3 separate regions of the Homo sapiens genome follow, and regions 1 and 3 are each linked to region 2. Evidence: promoter capture Hi-C in 16 types of primary human blood cells and fetal thymus (Javierre and others, 2016). All regions are on one chromosome and are shown on one strand. Each heading gives the region's core, a stretch centred on a gene start or on the middle of the fragment in contact. The rest is flanking DNA. Distances are from core to core; before and after follow the strand shown. Region 1 overlaps WFIKKN2 (WAP, follistatin/kazal, immunoglobulin, kunitz and netrin domain containing 2). Region 2 holds the start of NME1 (NME/NM23 nucleoside diphosphate kinase 1). Region 3 has its middle 7.7 kb from the start of TOB1-AS1.

The links. Contacts are between HindIII fragments. The CHiCAGO score rates a contact against its expected background, and 5 or more counts as called.
Region 1: a contact is called between a fragment that was not itself captured here and the fragment with the promoter of NME1 in region 2, in 1 of 17 cell types (neutrophils). The highest score is 7.5, in neutrophils.
Region 3: a fragment that was not itself captured here is called in contact with the fragment with the promoter of NME1 in region 2 in 8 of 17 cell types (monocytes, activated CD4 T cells, naive B cells and 5 more); the score reaches 8.6 in monocytes.

What each region holds. Positions count from the first base shown.
Region 1 is chr17:50,837,258-50,841,033 of GRCh38, reverse strand. It overlaps WFIKKN2 (WAP, follistatin/kazal, immunoglobulin, kunitz and netrin domain containing 2), which reads right to left. Exons shown (of 2, transcript NM_175575.6): 2 at 1-1,535. The coding sequence ends at 15. Among named protein-coding and RNA genes, the nearest start is that of WFIKKN2, 3.6 kb to the right of the region's middle. The HindIII fragment of the contact is 3,731 bases long and covers 80-3,776 here.
Region 2 is chr17:51,151,848-51,155,123 of GRCh38, reverse strand. NME1 (NME/NM23 nucleoside diphosphate kinase 1) reads right to left here and starts at 1,565. Exons shown (of 5, transcript NM_000269.3): 1 at 1,462-1,565. NME1-NME2 (NME1-NME2 readthrough) reads right to left here and starts at 1,565. Exons shown (of 9, transcript NR_037149.2): 1 at 1,462-1,565; 2 at 680-899. RefSeq lists enhancers at 1,295-1,714, 1,498-2,029, 1,053-2,252. The HindIII fragment of the contact is 18,411 bases long and covers 280-3,276 here.
Region 3 is chr17:50,872,608-50,876,096 of GRCh38, reverse strand. No RefSeq gene overlaps it. Among named protein-coding and RNA genes, the nearest start is that of TOB1-AS1, 7.7 kb to the right of the region's middle. The HindIII fragment of the contact is 2,783 bases long and covers 417-3,199 here.

The DNA of each region.
Region 1 (3,776 bases), core at 696-3,195, 310 kb after region 2:
AGGGGTGGGGGGCTTCAGTGCAAGCCAAGAAACTCCTTGAGGACGTCACAGGTCTTCTTGTGCATGACCTCACGAAGCTTCCTGACCCGGCGGGCACTCGATGCGCCCACAAAGCTATCGGGGCGCAGCATGGCCATGCCGCCGTCCACCTCCCCCATGATGATGAGCGGCATCTCGCTCACGGTCACGTTGGGGCAGGGGCATGCCCAGTCCACGTGAAGCAGAGTGACCTCCAATGGCTCCTGGCCCAGGAACTTGAGGCCCATTTTCTCATCCTTTAGGACCTCATCCACAGTCACCAGGGCGCGGCCCGAGTCAGGCTCCTCGGTCAGCTCAGAGACTCGGCCCAGGATGACAAAGTCGCTGCGACAGAAGCTGGTAACGAGCTTCTGCCGAGGCTTGCAGGCCCGACAGCGCTGGTTCCCCCTGGGGAAGGGGCACGACTCCTCACAGGCCTCACGGCTCTCAAAGTTGTTGCCATTGCCCTCGCAGCCACCATAGACAAAGGACTGGCACTGGCCCGTCTGGCTGTTGTAAGCCCAGCGAGGCGCGTAGGCTTTGCAGGGCCCCTGCAGGGCGGGCAGGCTGCACGCGGCCAGCGGCCCGCTCATGCAGGCCAGCATGCAGGCCTCATAGGTCTCAAAGTGGTTGAGGTTACGGTGGCAGTGGCCGAAGGTGAAGGTCAGGCAGTTGTTGGCCTGGGCATCGAAGTGCCAGCGGGTCTGCTCTTCGCCACAGTCCTCACTGTCTGGGGGCTTCAGGCACTCGGCCGCCGGGAAAGCCGTGCCATTGGGGCTGCTCTCTGAGGTGGCTGCAGCCTGATGACCCCTGACCACCGACAGCGGGAAATCAGCCCTCAGGACCCCAGCCACGTTCCGGGCCGTGCAGGTGTAGATCCCAGCATCCTGCAGCTGGGCGTTATAGATGACCAGCTGGGCAATGTTGGTGACCACCACGTTGCCACGCACATGGTTGGGCCGCATGACCACATTCTCCCGATCCTCCAACTGCTTCTCCCAGGTGATCTCAGGCCGGGGCCGGCCCACCACATCACAGAGGAAGCTCACTGTCTCACCCATGGTGACCGACTGGTGCACAGGGTTGTTGAGCAGCGCAGGGGCCGCCATGTCCAGCTCAGGGGTCTCTGGGGAGGCTGTGGTGGGGTGCATGGTGGTCTCAGGTGGTGGGGGGCTGGTGTTGGGCCAGGTGAAGTGATAGCGGCAGGTTACAACGGCCAGTGTGATGCCTTTGGAGCAGGCCTCGGCATCCATGTAGCAGCGGTTATAGTAGGTGAGGCCGTCCGAGGCGCAGGTAAAGCTGGGCTCCTTCTCACAGCGGTCTTTGCACTTACACACGGGCTGGCCATCCCAGATGTCACACTCAGAGCCCTGCTGCAGACACATGAAGTGGTCACATGTGGCCTCCTTGGGCATGCCCACTGGGCCCTTCTTCCCTTTCACGTCCATGTAGCGGGCCGCCACGCAGCTCTTGGTCCCACATACGTTGGGGCAGCACTTCTCATAGGTCTCACACTCCTGAAAGAGCCAGAGAGAGTGGCCTGAACAGGGAGAAGGAGGAAAGGAGGGGCTCCCTATCCTACCCCATGGTTTGTGGGGAGGAGAACTAACATGTACTCACCATCTAGTGGGAGCAAAACACTTGAAAATAATAACGAATGCATACGTAGCATCTCCTACATGCTAGGCCCCTGTGTAAGAACTTTGACATCTGTGAGCTTGCTATGCTCATCACAAGCCAGAGGTGGGTATAGCCATTATCTCCACTCCACAGATGATGACTGAGGCACAGAGAGGCTAAGTAACTTTCCCAAGGTCACTCAGCTAGCAGGGTAGGAAGGGGTGGGCCAAAGACTCTAAGAGGAAAAGTTTTCCTACAACCATTTTACAGATGAGACTGCAGAGACTCAGAGAGGTGATGCCCAAGTTCACAGAGACGGGAAGTGGCAGAACAAGGCTCCAAGCTCCCAGTGGAAGGGATTGAGAAATGGAGTTTTTTCTCCTGCATCATATAGCACAAATGAGGTCTAGCTTGAACAAGTAGGCCTGCCTTTCATCTCTTTCCTATGGGAGTGAGGATGCCTTGCTGACTGGAAGAGATCGCATCAGAGGTTAAGAGGGGAATGCCCCTGGGACTTTATCCGAGATGATCCACACCTCTCCTCCCCTCAAGGAGACCGACACACACGGGGAACAGAGGCTGTGAGAGGGCCCAGATCGATCCACAGCCAACAGTCAGGGCAGGCGTGACGGGCCCCACACGCCAGGTCTCAGAGCCACAGGCTGTGCCAGGCCCAGGTATCAGCTCCGTGTGGGACCTTTCACGGGAAAAGCAACAAGAAAAAAAGTCCCCTTGTGTGGCAAAGGTCAGCAAGGCCGTCAGCGAGGACTTGCCAGGCTGTAATCCCCTCTGATATTCTGTGGAGCCACGTAAAGCATTAGTTTAATTCCTCGAAATTAGCAACATGCTCCTGGAGCTGACACAAACAAGGATTTCACGTGGTGTTTTCGACAATAACACATCGTACCCACTTGGCAGGCAGGCAACGCTCCTAATCCTCCACCAGGTAGTAACTCTGTGAATTACTCCCCACTAGGGCTGGCCTCTTGTCATTCCAACTTTTATTTCAGCCTCTTTGACATTCCACATCAGCTAAGAGGGGGAAAATATCCCCCCACCCTGGCTGCATGGAGCCTGCCTGCTTGACTTGTTTACTGTTCTACCCGTTTCGGCTCAGAATGGGGACTTTGTTTTGCAGCCCTTGTTTGGCATAGTCTTCTAGGCCACACCAGGGGAGGCTTTGGGACAGGGATGGGCAGCTCTCAGAGCTGGGTCTAAGGGAGAGAGACCCCGCAGGGAATGGAGAGCAGGAGAGGGAGTAGGAGCAGGAGAACCTTCTCCTTGGCCTGAGCCTCATCCCATTCCCTAAGACATTCAGGACCTGGAGGTCCATGAAAGCCTGGGTCCTTGGGCACCAGAGGGAAGGTACTTCTGGCCACAGGGAACCTACAGGGGGTCCTTAGAACACTTCTGTGTAAGGGGGCCAGAATGTCCCCAAGGGCTGTCTGGATACCCAGCCTTCCACAGGTGCCTTCTCTCCAAGACACACAAAATCCACCAGAGTCTCACCATCCCCAAGCCCTACCTGGTTAATCAGGCCAGCCTGTGCCTGCAAATGTAGCCAACTAATGGCATGACCTTGGCCAGATGGGAGCAGCCACCACTCCTCCTGACTTCTTATCTTCCTTTCACTTGGCACCACCATTGCCCAAGGGGAGCATCTGTCCTGGGAGGCCTAAGAATTGTCCCTGGGCACTGTGAGGTTGAGGCCACCCTCTCCAGGTCAGCCCTCTGCTCTCCTGTGGGTAACCAGGCATCTATGGGGGAACCAGTGTCTCTCGTGTTCCCTGGGGATGCCCCAGCCTGGATCTGGAGCCTTGGGAGACTCCGTGCTGCCCTCAGAGCTGGCCAGACTGGGCAGGAAATAGCTCTGCCTGGAGCAGGTGTAGGTCCCACAGCCTGTTGCCCCAGAGGGGGTGGGCAGGAATGGCCCTCGGGAATGACTCGGGAGCTAGAAGAGAACTGGCCCTGCCCTGCAGCAGTGCCCTCTGATACAGAGCAGAAGGCAGGACCAAGGACGCTGGGAGGCTGAAACGTGGTCTCCTTCCTCCCAGGGACACCAGAGATCCATTCAGAGCTGCTCCTGCTTGGCCTGCCGTCAGCCTGGTCTTCTCTCAGGCTCAGGGTCCAAACTCCTG
Region 2 (3,276 bases), core at 316-2,815:
TACAGGTGCGTGCCACCACACCCAGCTAATTTCTGTATTTTTTTTTACTAGAGATGGGGTTTCACCATGTTGGCCAGGCTGGTCTCCAACTCCTGACCTCAAGTAATCTGCCCACCTCAGCCTCCCAAAGTGCTGGGATTAAAGGCGTGAGCCCCATGAGCCTGGCCACCATTTGATTTAATAAGCTTCTTTTAAACATCTACTGTGTACCAAACACTGCGGTGGAACTAGGATACAGGATGTTAAAAACAAGGCACTATCTTTCTCAATAATCAAGCTTGGGAGAAACTACACTGATGAAAAGTTTTACTAATGTGAAAGTGATGTCCGGTACAAAGCAGTAAGAAATAATAGTTTGACTTAATGCCACAGCCATAGCATTAGGGGTTTTAGAGAATATATCTTTACAACCCCCTTCATTTTACAAATGAGGAAACAGGACCACAGCACCAGAATGAAGGCCAAAACCCAGCATTCCCAACCCATTAATCCATTCTTGTAATGTTATGCTACACTTTACAATGCAAAGAATATTTTGACTAGCCAATAAACGGTGGGGTGTGGGAGAACTACAGACATTAGGAATATCTGATACGGGACATCATACTGAAAGGAAGCCTAGAGAGTAACTATTCCGTCCAGATCCCTCATTTTACAGAAGACTGCGCTCATGACCTACCCTGTATCACAGCTTGAGATAGGAGGCCCCTCGCCTTGAAAGACGATCCCTAAAGTAGACAGTAGCACCATCTCTTGGCCCCATCTTCCTGTCCTTTAGTTAACCTCTTCTTACAGCATCTTAGCACTGTAGTCCAATTTTCTGTTTGTGTGTCTGCCTCCCCTGCACACCAGGCTGACTTAGTCCTGTGTAGAGACTCTATGGTACCTAGCCACAGGGCCTAGCAGTCAATAGGAGCAAAGAAAATCATTTATCACCATTCTGCAACTTCCAAAAAAAAAAAAAGAGAGAGAGACAAAGCCCAAAGACTGCGGAGAATCGCACGATGGGGTGCGGGGCAAGCATAAATTGTCCAGGAGAAAACAGGACTAAAGCGCCAGAAATACACCCTAAAAATGTCCCTCCACATCGGTCCCGGTGACACAACAGTAAGCACTCAGTGCTTGCTGAATGAATGACACACACACCCGTCATTTATTCAGCAAGCACTTACAGAGCGCCAACTCCGTGCCCGGCACTGCTCTCGACAGACACAAATAAGGCACAGCCCTGTCGTCGCGGCCTGACGAGAAAGGCGGCCACCGACAAAGGCGAGTCCACGTGGCGTGGGACGTGCGCCGACCGGTCTGCACTTGTCCACAGGCGCTCCCTGCCCCTCCTCCCATCCGATCCTCCTCGCCGCCTCTTAGAGCTGAACTCATCTCTTCACTAACTCCTCACCTAACCCACTCCCGCGACTACACTCCTTTCTTTTTCCTCTCAGGATCCCGAACACCTCTTACCCTTCCAGCTGCTTAGGTTTGAACTCCGGCTGCAGCCGCCAGCACCCGAAACGCGCCCGGGACCCACGTGGTTCGCAGCACTTGCACGCACGGAACGCTTCTGCGCAGATCCGCTGCCGGAGAGCCCATTTTGCAGAACACCGCTCGCCCACGCTTCCTCTTGGGAGTAGGCAGTCATTCTAGGGAACAACTTTCTGCAGTTTAACTTCCGGCGCTAGCTTTTTCAGACCTTTCCGGTTAGCTGCTTGCTTTCTTCTCTCCACCCCCGGGTTCTCTGACTCACTTCCTTCGTTCGCGAGCAAATTGGCTTCCCGAGAGGTGGCGCTCACACGTTGCGTGAAGTCCAAAGAGTGCCTGACCTAGAAGTAGACTTTTCGCTCCCGCTTTGTGTTTATTCACCTTTTCTAGCCTGTCAAGCAAAAAATTTTGAGTACCTACTACGTGGACGCATTATTCTAGGCCCTAGGGATAAAACAGTATGCTCTCTTGGAGCTTCTGGGAGGGATGGGAGTATAGGAAAACAAGAAGCAAATAAGCAAATTAATATGTAATAGATCGCATTTTGTAAGTGCTGTGAAGAAAAGGCCAGAGAAATCTCTGAGTAAGTGATAATAGAATAGACCTGCATGAAGTGAGGGAGCCAGCCCAGTGATTCTTCGAGAGCCAAGTATTACGGTGGACATCGAGTGGTGGAAAATGCCGTTAGAATAGAGCCAAATCTTATGTTGTGAGATGCTAATACAGATTTTGCACAAGGCATGACATCATCACTAACAAAAAAACATTCCCACTGCTCTAAGGGGAAATGAACGGGGGAAAGGTACAAAAATGGAATCAGGAGCCGTTTCAACAAATGATGCTGGAGCAATTGGACGAATATAGACCCAAAGAACCTCAACCTAAACCTCTCACCTTATACAAAATTTACTCAAAATGAATCATAGATTTAAATGTAAAACAATAAATCACTTATGGGGAAAAAAAAAGTTAAAAAAAATCCTCAGGACCTAGGGCCAGGCAAATAGTTTTTAGACGACACCAAAAGACCAATCTATACAGGGAAAAAGTTGATAAATTGGAACTTACTGAAATTTAAAACTTTTGGCCGAGCGCGGTGGCTCACGCCTGTAATCCCAGCACGCTGGAAAGCAGCGGCGGGAGGATCACTTGAGCTCAGGAATTCGAGACCAGCCCGGGCAACATAGTGAAACCCCGTCTCTACTAAACATACAAAAATGAGCCGGGCGTGGTTGCAGGCGCCTGTAGTCCCAGCTACTCGGGAGGCTGAGGCAGGAGAATCGCTTGAACCCGGGAGGCAGAGGTTGCAGTGAGCCGAGATTGCGCCAGGGCACTCCAGCCTGGGTGACAGAGCGAGACTCGGTCTCAAAAAAATAAAAAATAAATAAAATAAATAAGTAAAATTTCATTATTCTCCTGTTTTCTTTTTTTTCTTTTTGAGACCGAGTATCGCTTTGGCGCCCAGGCCGGAGCGCAGTTGCACGATGTCGGTTCATTGCAAACTCCGCCATCCGGGTTCAAGCGATTCTCGTGACTCAGCTTCCCGCGTAGCTGGGACTACAGGCGTCTGCCACCACGCCCGGTATTTTCTTTTTCTTTTTTTTTTTTTTTTTTTGAGACGGAGCCTTGCCAGGTCGCCCAGGGTGGAGTGCAGTGGTGCGATCTCGGCTCACTGCAACCTCCGCCTCCCGGGTTCAAGCGAATCTCCTGCCCCAGCCTCCCGAGCAGCTGGGATTACAGGTGCCCACCACCACACCCGGCTACTTTTTGTATTTTTAGGAGAGACGGGGTTTCACC
Region 3 (3,489 bases), core at 559-3,058, 280 kb after region 2:
GGGTGATAAAACTACGTCTAGCAATTGAACACACATTGGCAGGGCAATTCCTAAGTATCAAGTAATGTACTATGCTCTGGGGCATTTAGAGATAAATAAAATGTGCTCCAAACAGAATTCCAATAATGTCATTTCCCAACTGAAAAATCACCCAACATCTTCCCGTCTGTTAAAGGCAAAATTCCAGATTTCCTCCCTTGGTAATCTGGCCTCTGCCTACCAACCAGCCTCCTCTCTAGATTCTCACCTCTGAACCATCCACAGCAGCCACTCTGAGCCACTTACCCTTCCTCAAATATTCTGTGTTCTTTCATTGGATTAAGCAGCGACCTAGCAAAGCCATCAGTCAATACTGATTGACTGCAAGGCACTATAAAGCTCGTGTAAAGGTACATGCTTTCTGCTCTTAAAAAGCTTGGAATCCAACAAAGGCTAGGACATAAACACACGGAAGGCTAAATAAACTAATAATTAAATAATAATATAAAACATCAAGCCATGGGATTCTGAGAGGTTTTTTGAAGGTGAAAAGGACTGAGTTGGCAACACTGTATCTGACAGAAGAGAGTGTTAATAATACTTGTTTGTAGTTTAAAAGCAATTTCACATGTATTTTTACTTGAGCTGAATCAAATGGTACTTGAATTTCTGCCAGATGTAAGAAGCAGAGAAGGAAGAGAAGGAGGAGAGGAGGAGGAGAAAGTAGGGAAGGAGGGGAAGAGGGAGGGGGAGAGGAAGGAAGAAAATATTCACATTTATGGGGGGCTTGACGGTTCATAGAGCGTTTTCACAGGTGTCACCTCAATTGATTCTCACACAACTCTGAGGGTAATTATTGCTTCTAATTATTTATAAGATGAGGGCTGAGACTCAGAGTAGCCATACCCAACTAATACCAGGTGGCAAGACCCAAACACAAATTCTCTAATTTTGAATTCATAATTTTTCTTCTCTGCTCCACTGCAGCTGAGATAGGAAGTGGGGGCCATGTTAGGATATCCAATGTTAATACAATGGGCAAAGTCTTAAAAGTCAAAAGGAAATATTTGAAGTAGTTATTAGTAAACAGTGTGAAATGTGACAGAAAGGTCAAGAAGACAGAGGCCTAAGTAAAAATGATTAGAACTGTTTTTGTTTGTTTGTTTGTTTTTGAGAAAAGGTCTTGCTCTGTCACCCAGGCTGGAGTGCTATGGAATGATCACTTGCCGCTTGGAACTCCTGGGCTCAAGGGATACTCCCACCTCAAACCTCCTTAGTAGCTGGGACTACGGGTGCTTGCCACTACACCCTACTAATATTTTTATTTTTTTTGTAGAGACAGGGGTCTCGCTATGTTGCCCAGGCTGGTCTCAACCTCATGGCCTCAAATGATCCTCTCTCCCATCTCAGCCTCCCAAAGTGCTAGGCTTATAGGTACCACTGTACCTGGCTTGCTTTTTTTTTTTTTTTAAGCATTTATGGATAACCCAGGAGTTAGTCAGGACCTTATAAAGTGAAACAGTAGATTGAAAAGCAAGGTTCTAGGCATCAAAATCACATGTTTAAAATGTTTGGGCAAGTTCTAGAGTGAGGTTTATGACCAGGATCCTCTTCAGCCACGTATCTGTACACAATATGCAAGATACTCATACAAATTGAAGCAAAACACAAAGACCTCTAAGAGAAACATGGAGAAAAGGCATAGATAAAAAATTTATAAAAACAGTAGTACAACGAGCTGACAAACATGTCAAACTCTATTCATCCTACATGTAATCAAAGAAATAAAAATTAAACAACAGATATCATTTTACCTACCAAATTAGCCAAGGATAGAAAAAAATTTTTTAGTAGGCAACGCTGGCTAAAAATGTAGTGATTTTGCAGTGCGTATCCTCTGGGAAGGTAAAAAAGTACAATCTCTCTGGAAGGTGGATTGTCATTATGTTACCAGCCTTAAAAAATATTCCTTCTCTTCCACTCGCTAAGTTTGCTTATAGAATCTAGCTCAGGGAAATAGAGAGGTAGCTAAAGATTTACATATAAAAATGCCTGTTAAATATGTTTGTTTTTAATACAGAAACATTTTCAACAACTTAGATGCCCAGCGATGGTTAAATAAATTATTCTAAATCCATAGAGTAGAATATAATATGCAGTCATTAAAAATGATGATTGTGACAAATGCTTAATGTCAGGAGAAAATAGGAAAAATGTAATGTTAAGTGAACTGCAGGATAGAAAATTGCGTGTGTGATAGAAACTCATTCAGAAAGAAATGGAGCAAGATGGTTAGCACTGCATGGAGAGATTAAAGATGATTGCTATTTTCTTCTTTATTTCTATGTGTTCCAAATTTGCTATAATGAGCATTTCCAGGTTTTATAATGAGAAAGAAGCCCTGATATTTTAGATTAGAGGAAAAATTTATTTTGGCTTTTTTGAAAATCAAGTTCAGGTTTCCTTAAAAGATGTAAAATTAGTGTTTTTGCTGGAAATACTTCAGCTGCAAGTCATGGAACACTTAATGTCGGTTAAAAAGTGGACCAGACCTAGGCAGTGACTAGCATTGGTGAGAACCCCTGTCCCTGTGATTAACTTGCGTTTTATTCATGGTTTATTCAGTAGGAGCTGCTGCAGCTCCTGCCATGAGATCCATGTTCAAGGCAGGAAGAAGAGAGAAGTGACCCAGTGGTGATTTTTAAAAATGGCCTCAAATTCTTTGACACTCCTCCATGAGAGGTGGTGGTTATGTCCCCTCCCCTTGAATCTGGCTGGTGGTTACTTTGACCATTAGGGTGTAATGGAAGTGGTGCATTGTGACTTATGAGACTGGGTCATAAAAGGCCATGCAGCTTCCTTGGTGGCAGCTTCCATGGTGGCAGCTTCCATGGTGGCCAGGCATGGTAGCTCATGCCTGTAATCCCACTGCTTTGGGAGGCCAAGGCAGGAGGATTGTTTGAGGCCAGGAGTTTGAGACCAGCCTGGGCAACACAGCAAGACCCTATCTCTAGAAAAAACTTGAAAAAAATGGTTTTAATTTTTAAAAAGTTCACTCTCCAGAAACTGCTCTGCTTCCTCTCAACTGCCACGCTGTAAGAAGCCCAAACCACAGGGGAAATTCAGAGGCCATGTGGAAACGCTCCAAACAACAGTGCCAACTAAGCCCAGCCCTTGAGTCACTGCAGCCCAGGTGCTAGACATGTGCTTTGAAAAAGCTTCCAGGTCCATGCTGTCCAATTCAGAAGCTGCTGTCCACATGTGATTATTTAAATCTAAATTTCATTAAAACTAAATTAAAGTAAAAATTCAGTTCCTCAGTCACACTGGCCACATTTCAAGTGCTCAAGAGCCGCATGTGGCTATTATATTTGACAGCACGGATATGGCATATTCCCATCACTGGAGGAAGTTCTGTTAGACCTGCTTCAGATGATACTTGAGCATTTGAGCCTTTCCAGCTGAGGTTCCAGACACTATGGAGCAGTGATAAGCTATCCATCCCCTTGT